Linked DNA regions of Homo sapiens: all the other regions are linked to region 1. The links are contacts of gene promoters, found by promoter capture Hi-C in blood cells and fetal thymus (Javierre and others, 2016). All regions are on one chromosome and are shown on one strand. The core of a region is centred on a gene start or on the middle of the fragment in contact, and the rest is flanking DNA. Distances in the headings are between cores, read along the strand shown.

Region 1 (2,700 bases), core at 55-2,554:
ACATGTCAATTCAGAAAGAAATAAAGCTTCCAACTTAAACTGCAAAACTCAGGGGGAGTTCCTCACCTGAAATTTCAGAATACTTACTGGGAGATAGCTACAGCCAAAACCAAATTGCCAAAAATGAGCATACATTATGTTCCAGGAGCTGAGCTAAAAACACTTTTCAGAAATTACCTTCATGATTATCACAACCAAGTGAGGCAAAGATAAATACATACCGATAAATAAATGGCTCAGAAATGTAAAGAGCTTGCCAATTTACTTGACTAACTTGTACTTTGTGACTGCTGATTAAGTATACAGCCGTAACAGGACAGAGTACTGTGAACTATCTTCCTACCATCCCTCCCCACCTGGGCATAAAAGGTAATGGAACTGTTCCGCTTTCACTTTTTTTTTTTGTAGGGGGACGGAGTCTCACTCTGTCGCCCAGGCTGTGGTGCAGTGGTGTGCTCTCTGCTCACTGCAAGCTCCGCCTCCCGGGTTCACGCCATTCTCCTGCCTCAGCCTCCCGAGTAGCTAGGAATACAGGGACCCCCCCCAACACAGCCGGTTAAGTTTTTTTGTATTTTCAGTAGAGACGGAGTTTCACTGTGTTAGCCAGGATGGTCTCGATCTCCTGACATCGTGATCCGCCCACCTCGGCCTCCCAAAGTGCTGGGATTACAGGCATGAGCCACCGCGCCCGGCCGCTTTCACTTTTATATGGTGTGGCTGCTCCTTCCCGACGAATGCTGAGGGCACAGAGCAAGCTCCGCTGGTCTGATAATGAATCACCCCATGGGCTTATTAGGAATCCTCTCGCTCAGTAACCCGGGAAGAACTGCGGCTGAGCTGCAAACCAAGACCCAGAGCTCTGAATGTATTCCCCCCTTGTCTATCTCCCCGCATCCCCTAAATCGCGTGTGTATGCAGAAGAGGAGGTGGATTGTAGGGAGAGAACTGTTCTGAACATGCCAGGCTCCAGCCCACCGAAGACGCTGGTTTGGGGGAGGCCTGGGAGAGGGTGGGGACCCTCCATTCCGCTGAAAATCACAGTCACACGGGCTTTGAAATGATGGGTGCTTCCTCTCTCAACCCTTCCTGTTCCCACAGGGACCGTGCCGCTCCACTCTGAGAGGACCAGGATGGTCCTCGCCTAGCTGTCCCGCCCCCGAAGCCGCTTGGGCAGGAGTCAGAGCCTGCTCCATCTCTTTCAGGCCTTCCCGCCGGTCTCCTGCGTCCAAACCTGCTGCAGCAGCCGCGCGGAGCACTCAGACACCAGTACGTCCATCCTCCCATCAGCGTCTCACTCGCCAAGTGGACGGAAGCGGAAACGGTCAGCCTCTCCCGGAAGCGGAAACCCCCTCCGGTCCGCTGTCCCGTCGGACTGGGTGCTGGCGCCTCTGCTGCCTCCTGGCGGGATCCAGTAGACACTGCGAGGAGAACCCGCGGGGATTTCGGTCAGGAGCGAGGCCGCAACTCAGGGACGTTTGGGCGAGGGGAGAGGAATTGAGCAGACACTAACCAGAGCTGCTCTGTGCTTGGATAGACTAGGACAGTCACTGACCTAGAGCTTCTGGCTCTCAAAGGCCTCACTTTGCCCCTTTGTGAAATGGGCACAAAACTAACAAATCCATTCATTTATTCAACAAACATTTATTGTGTACTTTAAAATGCCAGACAGTATTCTAGGCTCTGGGGGCACAAAGAAAACAAAACAGACACGATCTCCCCTCTCACGGCAGACACATTTTAGAATGGAGAGAGAAAATAGACCAAAAAAGGCAATAATCTCAGGTAGTTTTAATTGCTAGGAAGGCAATGTGATAGAGTGACTTGGGTGAGAGAAGACATCTCTAAGCAAGTGACATTTGAGTTAAAATCTTATTTATTTTTCCAGTTTTATTGAGGTATAATTGACAAAGATTGTATATCATAACGATGTACAACGTAATGTTTTGATATATGTATACATTCTGAAATGATTACCACAACCAAAATAATTAACATAACCTTCATCTCATACAGTTATCATTTGCATGTGTGTGTGTGTGTGTGTGTGCGCGCGCGCGCGCGCGCGTGTGTGCTGTGAACATTTAAGATCTATTCTCATCCTGGGAAACAGCTAAGACCTCGTCTCTACAAAAAAATGGAAAAATAGCCGGGCATGGTGGCATGTGCCTGTAGTCCCTGGTATATAGGAGGCTGAGGTGGGAGGATCACTTGAGCCCAAGAATTTGAGGCTGCGGTGAGCCATGATCATGCCACTGTACTCTGCCTGGATGACAGAGTGAGACCTTTTCTCTCTCTATTTAAAAACAAACAAAACGAAACGAAAACGAAAACTGCAAGTATACAATATACATTACATCTCTAGAATCTATTCATCCCGCCTAACTGAAACTTTGTAACTTTGAGCAACATCTCCCATCTTTCCTACCTCTGAAGCCCTGACAACCACCATTCTATGCTCTGCTTCTATGAATCTGAATTTTTTAGATTACACATATACATGGGCTAATGTAGTATTTGTCTTTCTGTGCCCGGCTTATTGCACCAACATAATGTTCTCCAGGTTCATCTATGTTGTCACCCATAACAGGGTTTTCTTTTATAAGGCTGAATAATATTTCATTGTATATATATTGAGTTAAAATTATAAACAGCAAACCTGGGATATATGTTCTAAGAGGGCAGGGACCTTAATTATCTTGT
Region 2 (2,700 bases), core at 181-2,680, 5.1 Mb before region 1:
GTTTCTGTGAAAAGCAGTGTTCTGAGAGACTAAGTTCAAAACTTTGGTGCATATAACTTCTGACCTTGCCTCCTCTTTTTAACATTTTAGCCAGCTTACCAAAACCTGAGGCAGAAAGTGGATAATTTTGTGTCAACACATCTGGACAAGCAGGAATGGAATCCTACGATGAACAAAAACCAGTTGCGAAATGGTCTGAGGCAGAGTGTGGTTCAGTAAGTAAGCAGAATTTAAAGCTTTTGAAAAGGCAGTCATCACAAGTGTGATGCACAAGAAGGTTGAGGTCTCTGTTTAGTCAAGGTTGATGGGACTTTATATCAAGTATCACTTAGGAGTTGCAGCAGTCTGCTCTTTTGTTATAATTAAGGTTAAAGGAAGCAAAGTACTCAGTTGAAATTCCAGTTTCTGCAGCCTGTGAAGGCCTCCTGTGTGCATCTCTACTGGGTGCATCAAAAGGCATTCCAAATCGTGAGACATTTTCCCTGCTCTTTGAAGTTTCAGTGTTGTCCAAACATATATGTGAGTTTTATACCAAGATATCAGGGTTTGGATCTTGGGCAAGAGGAGTTGGATCTTTATTCTCACAGGTGAATGTGAACTAAATAAATTCTTTGAGTCCACCAGGACTGCCACCTCTAAAGTGTAATGGTGACAGCTTTCAGGAAGGCATAGTCTTAATAAAGTATCGTACTTCACAGTAACAAACTGAACCTTAGTTAATAAAGGTGCTATTGATAGCTTATCTGAGTGACGCACAAAAGTGGAGGTGGAGGAGGGTACAGAAATGGGAGAACACATTAGTGATTGCCTGGGGTTACGGATGGGAGGAGGGGGTGAGTGTGACTTGCAAGTGGTAGCACAAGGGGGAGCTTGCAATGGTGCAGTTAAGTGTCACTGAATTGTGCTGTGCTCACGTGCAACAGCTCGTATGGTAAAGTCGCACGGAGCTACACACACAAATAAGTGCAAGTGTAACTGAAGTCTAAATAAGGTCTGGATTGGACCAGTGTCATTTTCCTGGTTTTGATATTGCACTAGTTACGCAAGGTGCTGACATTAGAGCTGGCTGGGTGAAGGGTGCGTGTGGAACTCCCTGGACTCTTCTTCACAACTTCCTGTGAATATGCAGCGATTTTAAGATTTCTAAAGTTTTTAAAAGTGTTTTACTAACAAGCTAGTACTTCCAATATGGCTGAATGCTGGGAAGAAGCCTGATAGCAGAAGATGCCCAGTGCCTTGTCATTCTGGAGTCAGTACCGAGTGCCTTTCCCTTTCTCCAGAGAACAGACTGGTGGCACCGGGCTCTTTCAGAAAGAAGGGGACAGTAGCTGCCCCTTACTGAGCAACTCTTTATTACATGTCTGGCACTGGTCTTTACATATATCACTCATCCTCATGAAAAGCCTGTTTCACAGCTAAAGTCACTTGTGTTTACCCTGTCTTGAGTAAATCAAAACACTGAACATTCTGAAATATTTGGAAAGTTGCCATGATTGTATGAAGGCTGTTAACATTGCTTTGATTTCTGTAATGAGCATGGATGTCATTCTAGAGGTATGCATGTGGCGCTTCCTCTTGCATTTCTTTAGTAGGAATTGTAATACGGAAAAGTGCACAGAAGTTCAGTGAAACAGATAATTAGAACATCCCTTGATCACCCAGATCGAGAAATGGACTCACACCCCCGAAACAGCCTAGCTCCGGATGTACTTTCCTCCTTTCGGAAGTTTTCCATATTCCTGACTTTTATACTAATCATTTCCTCTCTGCATAGTTTTTACCACCTCTGTGAAGTTGTTGTTTTTTTTTTTTTCCCTGCTTTTTGATTTGACTTAGAATGTGTTTAACCTGAAAACATGAACTTGGCTTTAATACTGGGACATTTCTCCACAATTCTTGCTAGCATTTTGAATTTGAGGCAAAATCTACTGGAGTTTCGAAACGCAGACTTTCTGCTTGCCCCCAGGTGCTCTCCCCAGGTGGACACTGCAGGCCTTCAGAGCATTGGCTCACTGGCCTGGCTGTTCTGGCCCAGATGCTGTAACCCAGTGCCACAGCCTAGAGGGTTTAACAGGAAATTAGCCTGTGCTATTGCACTGAATTATGACGAATAACTCTTGTAACTGTACAATATTTGTTTTTTCCATCTTGTACATTGGGCTCCTGACAAGATTTTATGTTTTCCTCAAAAGTTTAAGAATCTCCAGGAAAGTGAGCTGCACTCCCTTGGTAGTTTGTTTCCCCTGATCAGGGGTTTTGGTCAGTTGGGGATGCTTTAACAAGGCGCCGTAGACTAGGTGGCTTGTAAACAATGGAAATTTACTTCTCACCATTCTGGAGGCTAGAAGTCCAAGACCAAGATGCCAGCATGGTCAGGTTCAGGGGAAGGCCTTCTTGCAGGCAGCAGACTGCCAACTGCTTGTTCTTCTCATGTGGTGGAAAGAGAGCTCGCTAACTTCCTGGGGTCCCTTTTGTAAGGGCATAAATTGCATTCGCGGAGGCTCTGCCCCCATGACCCGATCGCCTCCCAAAGGCCCTACCTCCAAAGGCCATCACATTAAGGATTAGATTTCAACATAGGAAGTCTGGGGGACACAGGCATTTAGTTGATAATATCAAGCTTTTACATCTGGTAAAGGACCCTGTGAATCCGACTCAGGAAGTGGTTTGGTAAAGTTGGAAAGGTATTGGCTTGTGACT
Region 3 (2,700 bases), core at 141-2,640, 5.0 Mb after region 1:
ATTCTGTAGTAGCTATGCTTCAATTGCCGTGCAGTACGCCCAGAAACAATCCATTTCAACTTCTGAACATTTGGTTTGGAACACTTATTTGATGAATATTCAGTTAAACATTTGGATACAAGCTCTTGCCAGAAGGTCAGATCTCTGCCATTTATCTGTACATACATAAATTTTAAAAAATTATTACTCCAAGTAAGTCCCACCTTATTTAACTACATTAATAAATGCAATCCTATGAACATGTGTCTTTGCTCATTAAAAACATTTGAGGATAGCTACTTAAGTTTCAAATAAACATATGACATCTCATTTTACTTCAGGAGATAGAAGGGGTTTAGTTTCTTTTACAGCTGTTAATAGGATTTAGGCTATGTCCTTCACATACCTTGGAATGTTTCTGAAGACATTCTATTCCTTCTGTTAACTCTACACACTTCTGTGCTTGGATCTCTAATGCAATGATAGACAATGCCAACACAGAAGGCTAAAAGAGATAAATTTAAAGTAAATGCCAAATATAAAAACAGATCATATCAATAGGCATAATCTTTATAAAATATTTACCTTTGCTTTAGAAAATATGATCCTGCAATGACATGCCTTCAGTTGAGCTTCTAGTCTTTCAAAATTAATGCTATTTCTCCTTTAAAAAGAAAATGGTATTACTTTTATTAGGTAATACTACATCTAGTCAAAAGATGTTTTTAGAAAAACATTGAAGTCAATTTTTAAAGTAAAGCTTATGCACACTTAACATAGCAAATGAACTATTGAAAGGAATTCCCCTTCCATCAGAGATACTAACTTCTAAAGGCACCATATGGGAGTTTTAGATGATTTGGGCCAAAAAATTAAAATGAATAGTACTATGCCACAAATACAAGATTTATTTTCTTTTAGTTTTAATAAATATTTCAACATCCACTGAAGGTCCTTTTTTTCCATAAATTTGTGTTAGATGCTTTCCTACTAGGTTCTATAAAGTCAAAATGTACTTTAATCCCAAGAATTAGCTTTAACGAAGCTATTGACAATGGAACATTTTCTCACTTATGATGGACATTAAAGTTCAAGGAGCCACAGCTGTCATTTTACTTATTTTTATTAGAATTCTATGAGGATACTGATTTTATGCAATATCCATACAATACCATTCTGATTTCCAAATGTCTCTTGTTCAAAACAAAGGTCACTTACCTTTCAAGTGGCAAGTTCTCTTGAAGGAGTGAATAATACAGTTGCAGAAATTGAAAGGCAGTAGTAGCTTTGACTTTCCAACACACCTTCTCCAATACAATCTTTTCCATTCTCATCAAGTCTGAAACCGTAAACCTATATTGACTTATTCGGATCAAGTCAGTTGCCAATGGGACATTCCTTTCCTCTTCTATTGATTTTACAGCCAAATAAAAGCAGCTCAGTCCAACACACCCAAGGTGCTTGGGCTGTACCTAAAAAATCAAAAACAAAACCAGTAAGCCCATGACTCTACCTTATTTCAATTAAAACATAAAGGATAATCTAGAACTCCGACCCAACATTTTGAAAATGTATATTTGAGGTTTATTTCTCAGCTGTGATGGACTTAACACAATCCACTCATACCTAAACTATAGCCTGTCAACACTATGGACCCCACTTAGAACCAATTTTTGAGTAACTGGACTGAGTTTCAGTATAATGTTTGGCTCAGCATAGAAAAAGTGTGTTTTTATTAATCACTGTAGAACTATAAGTAAACATTGTTCTAGTTTGATCAAATAAGTTAACTAGTCAAAGATATATGAGGACTGAAATACTTTATGGCTTATTTACAAAATAAGCCATTTCTTTGCAGGATGTTGTATTTTTTCCAGGCTCTTGTCTTTGTGGGAACACATATAAAACAGTTTTAAAATACTATGGCATATACTGTTTACTCTGCCTCTAAGAGTTCTATCCACTACTAATCTTTATCATTTAATTTTCTGAATGTCTGCCGTATGAGACACAGTCAAAACTTTATCCAGTTTACTTCCAGCTCACATGAAACTAAGCTTTTACCAGTATTAATATCTCTGTGCTCTCTCTCTTCTTGTAAACTCTTCAGCAGTACACTTATGCCTCTTTAAAGGCATAATGTAGTTATTTTTCTTATTATGACTTGTACATAAGAGCAACGATCTTATTCTCACATAAGACTGAATTATACCTGAGGAATAGCTGTATATTATTCATTTGTGCAACATTTACAGATTCAAAGGTAATGACTACATGTGAAATGTCTAAAGAGCTTAATTAGTCTGTTGAAGCAAATTTCTTGAATCTTCAACAAATATTGAAGTCCTTTTTTATGATGCACTGTGTTAGATACCGAGGACTAAAATATGAGTTTCCTTCCAATTGTCACATCATCTTATTTTCCTCCAGTGACCATGGGTGTACAGGAAAGGCAGATGCATTTGTAACAGTTAAGCTCTGAAAGTGACAGTCTTGTTTATCTAGTATAGGAAAATAGTTGCTCCTCCTTCAGACACACTCTCCTCCCTACTGCATGTACACTGAAGCTGGAAATGCCAAGCATAAGCAAGTCTTGACTAGGTCTAAGGCTAAAACATTTACAATTTTATATATGGGTAGTGATTAACAAATATATCTTAATTCTTAGCCACAATGTAGCCTCTAATAAATTTCTGCCACTAATAAATTTGTTTATATCTA
Region 4 (2,700 bases), core at 103-2,602, 5.1 Mb after region 1:
TGCTCTGTTGCCCAGGCTGGAGTGCAGTAGCACGAACTTGACTCACTGCAACCTCCCGCCTCCCAGGCTTAAGTGATTCTCCTGCCTCAGCCTCCTGAGTAGCTGGGATTACAGGAGTGTGCCACCACGCCTGGCTAATTTTTTGTATTTTTAGTAGAGACAGGGTTTTGCCACATTGCCCAGGCTGGTCTCGAACCCCTGAGCTCAGACAATCTGCCCGAGAGGCAACTTGTTGGGAGAAATAACCAGTTTGAATGAGAGATCCTGTAAGGATTGGTTGATCTTCTTGGGGAAGAAAAACTAAGCAAAATAATTAACCACGTGAAGAAACGATTTAACAGACACTTCTCTTGTCAGGCAAGGGAAGTAATGTTTATTGAGCTCCAATTTTATGCTGTGCACTGAGTCAGAGATTGCACACATGCCACCTGATTCGCTCCTTACAACAGTATGATAAATTAAAAATTCTTATTCCCATTTTACCGATAAGGAAACTCAGTCTCAGAACACTTTCAGTAACTTACATGTGATAAAACAGGTAGTAAGTGGCAGGAAGTTATCAGGAAGAGTGTGTGTAATCAGGGCTGGGGCAACACTGGTGCAAAATAATTTATGATAAGTGAAACATCTACAATTTTCGTAAGAACAGGATCAGTAATAACGTTGTGCTGAACCATACTGGAGCCCGAAGCCAAGGGAATTTTTTGATGCCCCTTAAATTCTGTGCCAAGACAGGAGCCTCATTTGCTTCGCCCTAGGCCCAGCCCTGCAAATACTACAAAGTGCTTGTTCAGAAAGCTTTTTTCCAACATTTATCTAATAACAATTTATTGACTGGCTACTGTGCACCCGTCACTATGATCGGGTTTTGAAACAAAACATTAAGTTAGAATGTACCTGATTTCTGCTTTCCTGATACTTGTGGAACACCCTGCTCAAAGCTGGAAAGTATTATTATACAATAGATGACTCTTAGCTGGAAAGTATTATTAGATAATAGATGACTCTTAGTCACTTACTCCTTTGTTGTAGATAAGGAAAATGTGGCAAACTAGAGCCATGGAATTGGACTTTCATGGCCCCCATGTCTCTGCTGAATTTTGTAACTTCAGAAAACAATTTGTAGATTGAGATCACAAAGTCTTATGTTTGATGTGTTGAATAAACCATGTTCTTCAAGATCTTCTCTTTCATTAGTATCCCTTGACCAGGCAGATTGGAATATTGTCCTAATCATGGAGACCATACGTTATCTTTCAGTTTCATAGTGATTACAAGCATGAGTTTTGGCACAGCCAGACTTGAGTCTGTGAGTTATTAAGAACAATTGGGGCCTGGTGTGGTGGCTCAAGCCTGTAATTCCAGCACTTTGGGAGGCCGACGCGGGTGGATCATGAGGTCAGGAGATCAAGACCATCCTGGCTAACAGTGAAACCCTGTCTCTACTAAAAATCCAAAAATAATTAGGTGGGCATGGTGGCATGTGCCTGTAATCCCAGCTACTCAGGAGGCTGAGGCAGGAGAATCCTTTGAACCCGGGAGGCAGAGATTGCAGTGAGCCGAGATTGCGCCACTGCACTACACTCCAGCCTGGGCGACAGAGGGAGACTCCGTCAAAAAAAAAAAAAAAGAAAAAAGAAAAATAAATAAATTAAAAAAAGGACAACTGGTATCCCAGTTCTACTGGTAACTTTGGAGAACTTATTTAACATCTCTGTACTACTGTTTCATCAGTAAATGGTGGGTAATAAGAGTAGTAAGCTAAACTATATCAGGTGCTTACAACAATTCATGGTACATAGTAGGTGCTTAATATAAGTGAGCTTCTACTATTATAGTAACGGCCGCAATAGTTCTGTCACTAACTCTGTGATCCTCTGTAAATTACTTGGCTTATGTAAGCTTTAGTTATCTCAATTGACAAATGAAAGAAAATAATTGTACCTACCTCCTGAGGCTCTTGTGCTGACTAAGGCAGAGAATAAATGAAGATCACTTGGCTTGGCATATAAATGCTTGGAAAAATGTTAGCTCTTTTTTTTTCTAAAATGACTCTTTTAAACTAAAGATCCTTCAAAATTCAATGGCAGTTATAGATCATTCATCTTCTGTACTTGATGTTGTTCATAGTGCCTGGGACATAGCAGTACTCAATAAATCTTTGATGAAAGCATACAGAAATAAATAACGTTAGAGACATAAAAGCCCATAAGTAGCTGAGGTGTGCACGCAACGGTGAAGTAAGTAAAGGTCATTTCGTTTTGTGTGTGTGTGTGTGTGTGTGCGCACGCATGTGTGTGTAAGGAGGGAGGGGGGAGAGAGAGGGAGGGAGAGAGAGGGATAACATATAAGAAAGTAAATGAAAAGCTTCATTGAATTCTAGTGAATTTTGTGCTTCCCTTGCTTATGTTTAATAAAGATCACACAGAAGGAAGCTTCAAAAAGACAATGCAGATTTTCACAAGTGGAAAAGGATATTCGCAGTTCTATGGCTATCGATTTCTCTGACAAATCACTCAAGTCCAGTGGAGTTATTCAAATAGATATCAGAATAGATTATTACTTCATTGGAAAAATTTAAAGCCAAAGAACACAGAACATTGGAGTTATATTTTTTGATCCTCTCCTTGATCATGTTCTTAGCTGAGCTTACCCTTTTATTCTCTTTCCACGTCTTTCTCAAAAGTTAGAGAAAAAAAA
Region 5 (2,700 bases), core at 55-2,554, 5.1 Mb after region 1:
CATGTTGGGCAGACTGGTTTCAAACTCCTGACCTCAGGTGATCCTACTGCCTTGGCTTCCCAACGTGCTGGGATTACAGGTGTGAGCCACCATTCCTAGCCAAGGTTTGTCATTTTAGTTCATCTTTGCAAACAATTTTTGTGTTTTTAAAAATCTGCTCAGTGTTTTTCTCTTCTCTACTTTATTTATTTTCATTTTAACCTTATTATTTCCATCCTTGGTTTTGCTTTGATTTTAGTGGAAGATGACATTGTTGAGTGGAGATTTTTTTTAAAAAAAGCATTTAAAGCTATAAATTTCCCTCTGAGCACTTCTTTAGTTGCATCTATAAGCTTTGGTATGTTGTTTTTATTTTCATTCATCACATGGGATTTTCAAATTTAAATTTTTTCTCTGTCCCATTGGTTGTTTGAGAGTCTCTTGTTTAATTTTCAATTATTTTGTAGATGTCTCAAACTTTCTCTCATTGTTATTTTCTAATTTTATTTCTTTGTAGTTGGAGAATATATTTTGTATGATTTTAATTCCTTTACATTTATTGAGACCTGGCTTATGACCTAGTCTATGGTTTATTCTGAAAAATGTTCTATTTGTGCCTTAGAAGAATGTGTACTGGCTGGGTACAGTGGGTCACACTTATAATCCCAGCATTTTGAGAGGCTGTGGCAGAGAATCACTTGAGGACAAGAGTTCGAGACCAGCTGAGCAGCACAGCAAGACCACATCTCTATTAATAATAATAATAATAATAATAATAATAATAATAATAATAAGAATGTGTATTTTGCTGTTGTTGGGTGGAGTATTCTAGATGTATGTTAGGTCTAATTCACTTATGGTGTTGTTCAAGTCTTCGGTTTCCTGTTAAATCTTCTGCATAATTGTTTTATTCATCATTAAAAGCAGAGTATAAAGTATCCAGCTTTTATTGTGGAATTGTCTATTTTACCTTTCAATTCCATGAGTTTTTGCTTCATGTATTTTTTAGATCATTTTAAGTTTCTCTATAGTAACTTTTCATGCAGTTTTTTTTTCTTGTTATGATTTTTTTTGGATGGATTTTGAAACCCCTGCATTTTATAATTGATTTGTCTCCAGGGAAATTATGCCATAATGACAGTATTAAACTAAATAGCAATTAGTAAGGTAAATCATTTGCTATATCCATTTGTTTATTATTTTGCAACACTATTGTATTCTATCATCACTGAGGTTAAAAATATGTGTGTATGGGATTCTTTTTATATATATAGTTATATACCGAGGTGTGTGTGTGTGTGTGTGTGTGTATTACATAGAAAGAAGTCATAACAGTTTCCTGAGAACAATAAGTCATATACATTGAAGTCTGTGGATAACTTGAGCTTTCCTGGTGTAGAGGAAAGGGGTTGTAGAAGGTTGTTTTCCTCTAAAATGCTTGTTATATGTGGAAGTGGTATGGAAAACTCTGCTGTAGATAGTTTGGAGTCTTGGCTACTTCATAAAACATGGAATGAAAAATTCGTCTTGAAAATTACTGATAATGGTAAGTATAACTAGGCATTGCATGTTTATTTTTAAAAAGTCTTATTGCTCTAAAATATGGAATACTAATCTATACTCCCCATCCAAAGAATTTGTTTTTGGAAATTCTTACTTATATTCTCCTCTTGCCATCCTGCCATCTCTCTTCTCTCCCCCGTTTCCCATCCCTGCCAGGTCGACTCACCATAAGTAGAAAAATCTCACCATAAGTAGAAAAATCTCTTCATTAAATCTTATCTGTACCATGCTATCATCCCCATGGTTCTTATATCTGCTACAAAATAGCTAATCTAAAAAACTAACTTGTACCAATATAATGTGTTAGTCCTATTTTGGTTATCAATGGCTACATAAAAACAAAACAAAACACCAAAAATTGAAAAAAAAAAAGCCCCAAAACGAAGTGAACTAAAGATATGATGTCATTTGCTTTACCATCAATTCTGTAACTTGGGAAGACATGTAGACAGCTCATTTCTGCTACACTTGGCTAGAGGCAGCTCAAGTGGCTTGGAGGCTGGGTACCAGAATCTTCTGAAGACTTCACTTGCCTACATGTGTGGCTTCAATGCTGGCTGTGAGCTGGAACTTCAACTTTGGTATGGCCAGAATACTTACATGTGGCCTTTCAATGTGGCTACTTGGCTTCCTTACATGGCGTCTGGGTTCCAAGGATGAGCACAGAGATAGAGAGAGAAAGAGAGAAAGAGAGAGACAGAGAGAGGGAGAGAGCATGCCAGGCAGAAGCTTTATTGTCTTTTATGAACTAGTCACAAAAGTCATGCAGCATCTGTTCTGTTGTTTTCTTGTTGGCCAAGGCAGTCCAAACAGCCTACCTCAATTCAAGGAAAATGAAAAGAGGCTCCAAATCTTGATGGGGAGTGGTAACGATCTGATAGAGTGTGTGAAAGCAGAAATATTGCTGTGGCTATTTTTGGAAAATACAATCTGCCACATTTCTCAATGGTAGTATACAAATTTTAATTAGGCAACATTGGGATCTAAAGGAATTAATGTCAAAGTCAGAATTTTAGACAATAAAGCATACCTCTCAGGGAGATATTTAGGCAGCATGTTCAATAACTTTCAAATACTGTGGAGGCAACCACATATGCTGCAATACCTGGGCCAGTTCTGTAAAGAAACAATCAAGTTTTCTTTTCTTTTCTTTTTTTT

The links. Contacts are between HindIII fragments. The CHiCAGO score rates a contact against its expected background, and 5 or more counts as called.
Region 2: a fragment that was not itself captured here is called in contact with the fragment with the promoter of RARS1 in region 1 in 1 of 17 cell types (naive CD8 T cells); the score reaches 8.2 in naive CD8 T cells.
Region 3: a contact is called between a fragment that was not itself captured here and the fragment with the promoter of RARS1 in region 1, in 11 of 17 cell types (total B cells, non-activated CD4 T cells, naive B cells and 8 more). The highest score is 24.1, in total B cells.
Region 4: a fragment that was not itself captured here is called in contact with the fragment with the promoter of RARS1 in region 1 in 2 of 17 cell types (total B cells and naive B cells); the score reaches 8.0 in total B cells.
Region 5: a fragment that was not itself captured here is called in contact with the fragment with the promoter of RARS1 in region 1 in 2 of 17 cell types (naive CD8 T cells and activated CD4 T cells); the score reaches 7.0 in naive CD8 T cells.

What each region holds. Positions count from the first base shown.
Region 1 is chr5:168,485,075-168,487,774 of GRCh38, reverse strand. RARS1 (arginyl-tRNA synthetase 1) reads right to left here and starts at 1,304. Exons shown (of 15, transcript NM_002887.4): 1 at 1,232-1,304. The coding sequence starts at 1,276. The HindIII fragment of the contact is 3,317 bases long and covers 29-2,700 here.
Region 2 is chr5:173,610,646-173,613,345 of GRCh38, reverse strand. It overlaps BOD1 (biorientation of chromosomes in cell division 1), which reads left to right. Exons shown (of 4, transcript NM_138369.3): 2 at 91-215. Among named protein-coding and RNA genes, the nearest start is that of BOD1, 4.7 kb to the left of the region's middle. The HindIII fragment of the contact is 2,384 bases long and covers 239-2,622 here.
Region 3 is chr5:163,439,829-163,442,528 of GRCh38, reverse strand. CCNG1 (cyclin G1) reads right to left here. Exons shown (of 7, transcript NM_004060.4): 3 at 1,198-1,451; 4 at 565-643; 5 at 386-484; 6 at 1-155. Among named protein-coding and RNA genes, the nearest start is that of CCNG1, 3.6 kb to the right of the region's middle. The HindIII fragment of the contact is 1,297 bases long and covers 742-2,038 here.
Region 4 is chr5:163,404,245-163,406,944 of GRCh38, reverse strand. The region is part of intron 1 of LOC105377700 (a long non-coding RNA gene); the gene reads left to right. Among named protein-coding and RNA genes, the nearest start is that of CCNG1, 32 kb to the left of the region's middle. The HindIII fragment of the contact is 1,104 bases long and covers 801-1,904 here.
Region 5 is chr5:163,421,101-163,423,800 of GRCh38, reverse strand. It overlaps a transcript of LOC105377700 not described here. Among named protein-coding and RNA genes, the nearest start is that of CCNG1, 15 kb to the left of the region's middle. The HindIII fragment of the contact is 1,939 bases long and covers 335-2,273 here.